2 separate regions of the Homo sapiens genome follow, and region 2 is linked to region 1. The links are contacts of gene promoters, found by promoter capture Hi-C in human tissues and cell types (Jung and others, 2019). All regions are on one chromosome and are shown on one strand. Each heading gives the region's core, a stretch centred on a gene start or on the middle of the fragment in contact. The rest is flanking DNA. Distances are from core to core; before and after follow the strand shown.

Region 1 (4,514 bases), core at 1,858-4,357:
CCCTTCCTTCCTTCCTTCCTTCCTTCCTTCCTTCCTTCCTTCCTTCCTTTTCTTTGCTAGGGCCTGCCTTTCTCTGTTGCTTTCTTTCTTGCTTTCTTTGTTCGGGTCGTCATCTCTTTCCTCTTTCTTTCTTTCTTTTCTTTCTTTCTCTCTCTGTCTTTTCTTCCTTTCTCTCTCTGTCTCTCCCTCTTTCTTTCTTTCCCCAAGGAGGATTTGCCTGCCTGCCTGCCTGCCTTCCTTCCTTCCTTCCTTCTTTCCTTCCTTCCTACCTTCCTTCCTTCCTTCCCCCTTCCCTTCTTTTTCTTTTGACAGAGTCTCACTCTGTCACCCAGGCTGGATTGCAATGGTGCAATCCCGGCTCACTACAACCTCCGCCTCCCGGGTTCAAGCGATTCTCCTGCCTCCCGAGTAGCTGGGATTACAGACGCGCGCCACCGCGCTGGGCTAATTTTTTGTATTTTTTAGTAGAGATGGGGTTTCACCATGTTGGCCTGGCTGGTCTCGAACTCCCGACCTCGCGATCCGCCCGCCTCGGCCTCCCAAAGTGCTGGGATTACAGGCCTGAGCCACCGCGCCCGGCCGGGTCTGCATTTCTGTATGAGGGCTCCCATGCCGCGTGAAACTTGCACTATGCTTTCCTCCTATTCATCTATCTTATGTCAATTTAATTCTCGGACCCAGCCGGGACCCCTAGAGGATGGAGGTGGAGTTCTGCCCTTACACTGAAAGCACAATCTTCCAAAAGCAGAGACACTCTTCAAAACTTTGAAAAGAGACTTTTAGGTCCTAGGGCAATGGAATCTCGTTTTCTCAAAAAGCCCTGCTTGCTTACCCTCTCGTTTTCCCCCAGGCCTGTTTTCTGGGACAGGGTGGGAGGCCCAAGGAGACAGCCAAGTTCAGGCCCCAAGCACCCAGCTCCTCCTCCCAGGGTGGGAGCCTGGCCAGAGTTCCCGACCCACCCCGCCCCATTCCCCGCTGGCGCTTGGTCCGCCCCTCCCCGTCTGGAAGCCTCCAGCAGCCCCGCCCGGCGGAACTAGGGGACGGGTGGGGGACGTCGAAGGGCGAGGGCGGTGACCCCGGGGCCAGAATTCTCGCAGGCGCCTGGGCCGGGTGCCCGGCCGTGCGTGAGTGCGGAACAAGTCTGGGCGCGGGGAAGGGCGTGGGTGCGGGCCGTGGGTGGGTGCGGGGCAGGGCGCGGGGCTGTGGGAGGGCGCGAGGCCGTGTGTGGGTGCGGGGCTGGGTGCAGGCCGTGGGTGGGCGCGGGGCCGGGGCTGGCGGGGCAGGGCGCAGGCTGCTGCAAGGCGGCCTCGTGGATTCTGGCCCCGGACGCACGAAGCGGGTTCTACTTTTTAAAAAAACTGCGTTGCCTTTTCCTTCCTCTACGTTAGCATCCTGTCCGGGGTCCCCGGCCCATGTGGCCTTTCTTCCAGCGACAGTACACTTAGCTCAGAACGGATTGACACCCACTCTGTGTTTCCACCGGGCGCGCAGGCTCTGCAATGCGGAGCGCGTTCTCTGAAGGACAGGCCCCGGAGTCACGGCTACAGCCACAGAAAGCGGAAACCGAGCTGCAGTCCAGAGGGGATCCCCGTACATTTCCAGCGGGCTCAGACACAGGGTCCCCCACAAGAAAGAAACAGGACAGAAAAAGTCAGGACACGTATGCTGTGGAGAGTCGAGGTCTCGCCTAGATCTTGGGTGTGGGTAGACGCAGCCGCTGGCAGTTTTCCTTTCCAGCGTCTCTGGGGAGCCTGGAGATGTCCTTGGTGCCGATGTGACACGAAGAGTGATTGCGCCGCCCTGCAGAGGCGGTGGCGGGACGCTGCGCTCGGGCTGGGAAAGGCCGGCCCCAGGGCGACCCCTCCGGAGGCCCCCGGAGAGCAGGTGTGCACCTCGCCTCCCGCTGGGCAGCCAGTTCAGGAGAAAAATGTGAAGCTTTTAGCTAAACAAAATATTTCTTTCGTTAAGGGCTTTCTCCACACGGAGACTTTCTAGCCACGTGAGACTTTGACCTCCCAGTCCCCCAGATTCAGCGCTGGGACCGAGCGTCTGCTGTTATTTTTAGTAGAAGTATAAAAAGAATCTCGAAAAGTTTTAGCTCTGGAGAAGGCGTGAATACAGCTGGTGCCTTCATACACTCCACTTGAGCCGCTCTTTAAGAACTCCAGGAGATCAGAAAGCAATACGAAAGCCAGAGCATTGCACATGGGATGGGCTGGCGGGTGGCCTTTGGGTCCCTATCTTATGGACGATTTTTGTAAATGGGGCATTGGAGATGAGTATCACCTGGATCACATTTTTAGGTTGAATTCCTCCGTGGGGGGAACTTTAGCAATACGCATCCAAATAAGAATGTAGATTGCAATAATTGTAGTAAAGTGTTTGCCAGACTCATCTCAGAAAAAGACATTATCAAAAGGCATTTATTATCTTCCTAATGCGTGTCTGGCACTGGGCAGACACTGTAGAATACTATCTTGATTAGAGTCTCAAGGATTTTGTACTTAAAGTCCTTTACAAATAAAAGTATTCAAGTATAATCTATTATAAAGACTCTTTTCTCCACTTTGGGGATATACGGTGTGGCATCGATTCATTGGTCATACCAAAACTGTTACTTCTGTTTTGGAGGAATTAACAAGGAAAACCCAGGCTTAGTAAATCAACATCGAAGTTCAGAAGTTCAGAGTAATTTGTCTTGGGAACAAAGTCCTCCCTAGAGCGAAGAGGCATTCACAGGAGCTCTTGGTGTTAATGGGATTATTCAAGATATACCTGAGACCAGATAAATATTTGATGATTTTGCCAAGCACTAGGGTTTCTTTGCAGTTTGTCTTTGGCTGACGTTTTCCCCCCGTGGGGTTTGGACTTTGTGGCTTCACCAGATTTTGCAAATGAAAGAAGGCTGGGGTTTCCCAAGAGTACACTTGTGCAGGAAACAACAGACTAGTGAGGTTTACAAGAGGGGGGTGTGTGTGTGTGTGTGTCTGCCTGTGGGATGGGGGTGGCACGGGGGAGAGAGAGATGTGGGTTACAAAGCTGCCATCTAGAGGCTAGAGGCTCCTTTCTGCAGTGTATATAATGCAAGTCTGCAGCCAGCAGAGCTCACAGTTGTTGCAAAGTGCTCAGCACTAAGGGAGCCAGCGCACAGCACAGCCAGGAAGGCGAGCGAGCCCAGCCAGCCCAGCCAGCCCAGCCAGCCCGGAGGTAAGGAAACGGTGCTCGGGCAGCAGCTCTGCTCGGAAAGAAGGCACGGCTTCTGCTCTTAAGCCAAGTGGTCTTTTCAAAGGCCTTCTTTAAAATCGCTCAGATGGGTGCTTTTGAGTCTGCGGGTCTGGTTTCTGAAAACCCAGGCTGCACGCAGCTGCATTGCAAAGTGCTTTTGCTAATTCGGAGGGCTTCACCTTTCTCTTCAGAAAGCAAAGGGCAGTTTTCTTAAGTCACTTGCAGAAGGAAATTTCCATGTGTATTTAGGAATCTGGTGTTTATTTGCTGTGTGGCTATTTAAGCTCCAGTAAGCAGGGGAACTTTGCAAGAACACAGACTATCCATTCTGCCTGACCAATTTGGCATGGGGATTAGCTTGGCACCCACTGTTTACCTGTTTTGCTTCTAGTATATCAGTTTGGAAACAGATAAAATTGGCAGTAAATACGTAATTCCAGAATGATGAACACTTTATTAAGAGGCATCCTTAAATGGAGCAGAAAACTGCTGAGAATCTTTGTGAGTCCAAGATGTATTTGAATTCAGTACTTTGGGGGATTTACCAGAGTCTGTAAGTCCGGAAGCTATAAACGTGAATGTTAAACACAGCCCGGTCTTCTCTTCTCTTGATGGCACGCTTGCTAATCTAATTTGAGTATTGTTCTCTTAGAAGGTGTTAAGTCCAACTTCAATTGGGGTTGGGGGAAGCACACACACAAATCTACTATTTTGCAATTTAAATATACTCTTCAGGTAAAATGTGGATTTTGTTCAATTTTGTTGGCATGTGCAAAGATTCAAGGAGTGACTGAGAGAACTTTGGAGTGAGGTCAGGGATGGGTGGTTAGCCAAGACTTGTAACTTCCAGGGAGAATGAGAAGTTGTAAAAGTCAGACTGGCTGTCTCTCTTTCTCTCTTCCTCTTTCTTTCTTTCTTTCTTTCCTTTTGCTCACAACAGGATTACTTAGTGTTTCAAAAGTGGGAGAGAGCCTCCTTAAATGGTTTACAGCCCTTTGAATGTATTTGGTGCAGTGACATCCCCTGAAACTTCAGTCTGCAAAGTCTCAACATGGTAACTTTGTTCTTTTCTTTTTTAAAGGCAGATGCTGCTTTTAGTGTCCCTTTATTTATTCCAGGAAAAATGTGGACATCAGCTAGGCACGCCTAGCAAAGAAAGTGGAGGCTGCTGGTTTCTGTGCTTTAACTTTCCATAGATTTTAAATGGATAAACTGCTTGCCCTTCTTTCATCAGAATATGAGCTTTCCCCAGATGGAAAGTCTTTTCTAAAGCAAAGTTGCACATGGGA
Region 2 (4,514 bases), core at 1,018-3,517, 530 kb after region 1:
TCTTCAATTATTTCATCTAAGATAGTTTCTGGAAATTTCACTCTCGATCTTTCTGTGGACACAATCTATTTTGTCATTGTGTCTATATGAATCTCTTAAGTAGAAATGAGTTGTATGGTGAATCTGTGTAGTGATAATTATATAATTTATTTATTTTGAATGCATTTTAGTGGCTATTTCAGTTTTTCTTAACATATATGGGAATACTTTTTGAATTGCAATTTTATTTAACCCGGATAGGTAAGTCATATTAAAATTCCTTGTTTTACAGTTGAGGAAATGGGAATTCAAGAAGTCAGAGGATCAGGAGAGTGATCAAGAGAATGACAGTGCCAGTTTTTTTAACTTCCAGGTATTAAGTACAAATTGTATCCATGGTTATTTTTTAAAAGCAGATTAGAGTCAATCCAAATATTCATTAATAGGGGATTGTTTGAATAAACAGCAGTGTAGACTACGCAGGTGTAAAAGGAGTGAAGATCTCTATACTAAACTGGAATGATCTCCAGAGTGAGAACATAGAAAGCACATGTAGTTTATATGGTTATTTTGAGGGTAACAAAAGGAGAATGATTACAATTATATATATGTACATATTTCCTTATATTTCAAAACTAAGCAATTGGGGGATATATACAAAATGAATATAATAGTTCCCTAAAGAGGAAGGAGAGGACAGTGAACTACTACATAGAGAAAAAATAATCTCAAGTGATCAAACACAATATTTCAATTTTACATTGTCAGTGGGATATACACTAAGGACAGAAAAAAATCTTAGACTAATGAATGTGGTTTTTCATGATTAATTTCACAAAATCTTGATATCTTTTTTATTATTAAAAGTATAGATTAAATTAATAATCATGTAACATTAGACCCCAGTAATCTTAAATTTGACATGGAAACCTCATTATATGCTTTATTTTTCTTTGTAAACAGTAAATATTTCCCACTCCTGTCTACATGAAAAGGTCTAGAGTAATTACAGTTCAGTAACAATGAGCACCACTAGTACCCAGATGGTGTTCTTTCATTTTCATTTGCAATTAAAAGGAATCAGAACTTATTTGCAAAACAGCTAATAGTTCCAGGGCAGTAAGTGTACAAGTTCATATCTGGTACAAGATGTCCAGGATTCAAGGAGGCTCTTAAAGACTTGGGATTCTGTCAAAGGGTTATACAAGCCAACTTGAAGGGATTTCTACAGGCCATGTAAAAATGAGACAGTTTGAGCATGAAATATTTGTATATGTGTCTGTTTTTAACTCTTAATAACCTCATCACTGTACAAGAAAGGCAGGGTAAGTGCTTGATTTCACTTCCCTTTATTATCAGTTCTCAGGACAAATTGATATGCTGCCAATCTCTAAAGCAACAAAATCGAACCTGTAGGGTAGTCAAAAAGCTCATGCTGGAAAATTCCACCGAATAAAGATAAAAGTTAGAAAAACGGTACTTGCAGCCCTTAATGAAACAAAGAAGGGATCATGGAAATATATATCAATGCTGTTGAGACCACAGGGTAAGAAATTGAGATTGAGCATGAAATATGTCCAGTACATCCATCAGCCTGTCTTTGTGCTCTGGCTATTTCTGAGCCAGCCATCTGTGTACAAGTGTAGCCTGACAGCACCCTGTTTCAGATCCATTGGATATCTCTAAAATTTGCTCTGGGACTTACCCTGGCACTACTATCAGGATGCCCACACAAACCTGATTGGGCAGCCCATCAGCAGTTGTGAACATGACATGGTGAATAAACACTCTCTTCCTTGTCTCAGGGCAGACTATTTCCAATGTGTTCTATACCTAGATCCTCAAAAAGAACCCCCAAAAAATTGAGCTGTGGTGTCCCATGGTCATAAGCTCTCTAATGCAGCCTTCAATTGTTTTTTCCTCATTCCTTGTTTTACTTTTCCTGGTTCCCTGTCTCTTGTTCCCGGAGATCAATAGAAGTGATCTGTCTACATATCTTTACATACCTATGCTATTCTGCCTTGGGGCGGGGATCGGGGACCTAGTCAAATCAAAGGGAAGTGTGTAACACATGAATCAGACTGAAAGCACCTGAATTTAATTTTATATATATAAGTATATATATATATGTGTATATATATATATATATATATATAATACGTATATGCATATATATAGTATATAAATATATACATATATACATGTACATATATATATATTTAAAGGTTTAGATCTGCTACTTTACATAAAATGTGAGAATTAATGGAACAAGTTAAACATCCCACTAAGAAACAGCCAGTTCCAGAATGTGGGAAATTTAACAGGATTAGTGAGTTTGCTTGAAAAATAAATGACAAAAAGTCAGGGGGTGGTAGTAAGTATGAAAATGTCTGTTCCTGGGTTGAAGTACCTTGAGGCCAACTCAGAATTGTGTCAATAACTAATAGGTGAATACCCACATTTATCCCTTGAGAGGCATCAGCCCCTAAATCAATGAGGAATGTGGAGCTAAGATTTGAGAGTACTGCAATGAGGTCATCTGCAGCAGCTCTTTGCAGGGTCGGTGGCAGGTGTTTGCTGATTCCACAGGGCACAGCAAGATTCAAGCTTTGCCTGGTGAGGGGCCTGCTGCTGAATAACCTAACAACCTGTGGAATTTGGGCACTTTGAAAGGGCTGGGGTGATAACAATGGAGACTTGAGAGGGCTAAACCACACTGTTTACCCTTCAAAACATTTGGTGAACTTTTAAGCTGCCTAGGGTAGGAGACCAAAAAGCAAGTCAAAAACCTTTGAGAAACAGTTCCGTTTTCCTGGAGTTTTGCTATGTCAGCGCTCCATTAAACAAGGTTGTTGGGTGGGGGAAGGTGTTTGCTTATAAATATAAACCAGAAGTAGAATATTAGTAAAACTGCTCCTGGAAGACAGGTCAATATAAAATATTAAGCTGAAGTACAGAAATGAAACAGTGGAACTTAACTGGCAATTGTGTTGGAGACATGTGGTACACAGCATAGCGATCTACCATTTATCTAATTGGAATCCAAGGAAGAGCGAGAATATAGAGTGGAAAAATAGAAGTACCAGCCCAGAATTTTCTGAAAGTGATGAAAGAAATCAATCCACAGATTCAAAAAGCTCAGAAAACCCCCACAGAGGATAAATGCAAAGAAAACCACACCCAGACAACAGTAGTAAAACTACTGAAAACCAGAGACAAAGAGAATATATTAAAAGCACAGAGGGAGGACCCGGGGGGACATTATCTTCAAAGAAGTAGTGGTAAAGCCAGACAGTGAAATGGCATTTTTAACATGTTGAAAGAAAAATAAAATCCTAACTGCTATATACAAAAGATCCTCTTTTAATATTTCTGTGTTCTTACATTTAAAAGTTGGAAAAAGATATACCATTGCAAATACTAACCAAAAGAAAGTTGGTGCACCTTTGATAGTAAGAGTTGGCCCTCCATATCTGTGGGTTCTACATCTGTGATTCAATCAACTGTGGCTCAAAAATATTTGAAATTTTTCTAAAAAAATACAGCATAACAATTATACATTGCATTGTATTAGGTATTAAATCTAAAGTATACGAGAGAATGTGTATAGGTTATTTGCAAATACTATGTTATATAAAGGACTCTGATCTACAGATTTTGTATACTTGGCAGTCTTGAAGCCAAGTATATCCCCTGTGAATATCGAAGGGTGATTGTATTAGGCAAAGTAGACCTCAAGGCAAGAAGCATTATTAGAGATAGAAAGTAATTTTTAATGAAAAAGATTGCATATAGTTTCCTTCTGTAACAAATTACTGCAAACTTAATGGCTTAAAACAACACAGATGTATTATCTTACAGTTCTGCAGTCCACAAATCTGAAATGGGTCTCACTGGGCTTATGTCAATAGGGCTGCATATTTTTCTGTAGGCTCTAGGGGACAAGCTGTTACCTTGCCCTTTCCAGCTTCTAGAGGCCGCCCGCATTTCTTGGCTCATGCCCCTCTTTCTCCACCTTCAAAGCCAGCAACATTGGGTAGAGTTATTTTCACACTGCTCGATCTCTGGTTCTCTCTTCTGCCTCCTTTTTTCCACTTTGAAGGACCCTTGTAATTATATTGGGCCCACCTGGAAACTCAGGATACTCAGTCTATTTTGAGGTGAGCTGATTAGCAATCTAGTTCTGTCTGCTATCTTAATTTCCTTTTCCCATATAACCTGAGATTCTACGGATTCAAATATAGACATTTTTGGATGTCCGTTATTCTACAGAGATCAGTCCAAAAGGCAACAGGAATATGTAGCAATTCTAATTTTATATTCAAAATATAATCAAGTGGAAGTTTACCGAACTAAAAGGAGAAAAGAGTCATCTATAATCATACTGGAAGACATAATACACCTCTCATTAGCTGATGGCATGAACAGACAATATCACAAAGAACATAGCAAAGGTGACAGACTTGATCTAATTGGGATACATAAAACACTAACCAACAATGACAAAATATAATTTCATTTTATGCTGTATAAAC

Evidence for each region. The method cuts DNA at HindIII sites, captures the fragments that hold promoters and counts their contacts. A contact is called where the count stands out against the background at its distance.
Region 2: a contact is called between a fragment that was not itself captured here and the fragment with the promoter of ACKR3 in region 1, in 1 of the 25 tissues and cell types used here (spleen).

The regions. Positions count from the first base shown.
Region 1 is chr2:236,566,718-236,571,231 of GRCh38, forward strand. It overlaps ACKR3 (atypical chemokine receptor 3), which reads left to right and starts at 3,108. Exons shown (of 2, transcript NM_020311.3): 1 at 3,108-3,207. RefSeq lists enhancers at 593-1,468, 1,469-2,344 and a silencer at 1,118-1,167. The HindIII fragment of the contact is 7,550 bases long and covers 1-4,514 here.
Region 2 is chr2:237,098,687-237,103,200 of GRCh38, forward strand. It overlaps COPS8 (COP9 signalosome subunit 8), which reads left to right. Exons shown (of 8, transcript NM_006710.5): 8 at 1-1,788. Among named protein-coding and RNA genes, the nearest start is that of COPS8, 15 kb to the left of the region's middle. The HindIII fragment of the contact is 7,817 bases long and covers 1-4,514 here.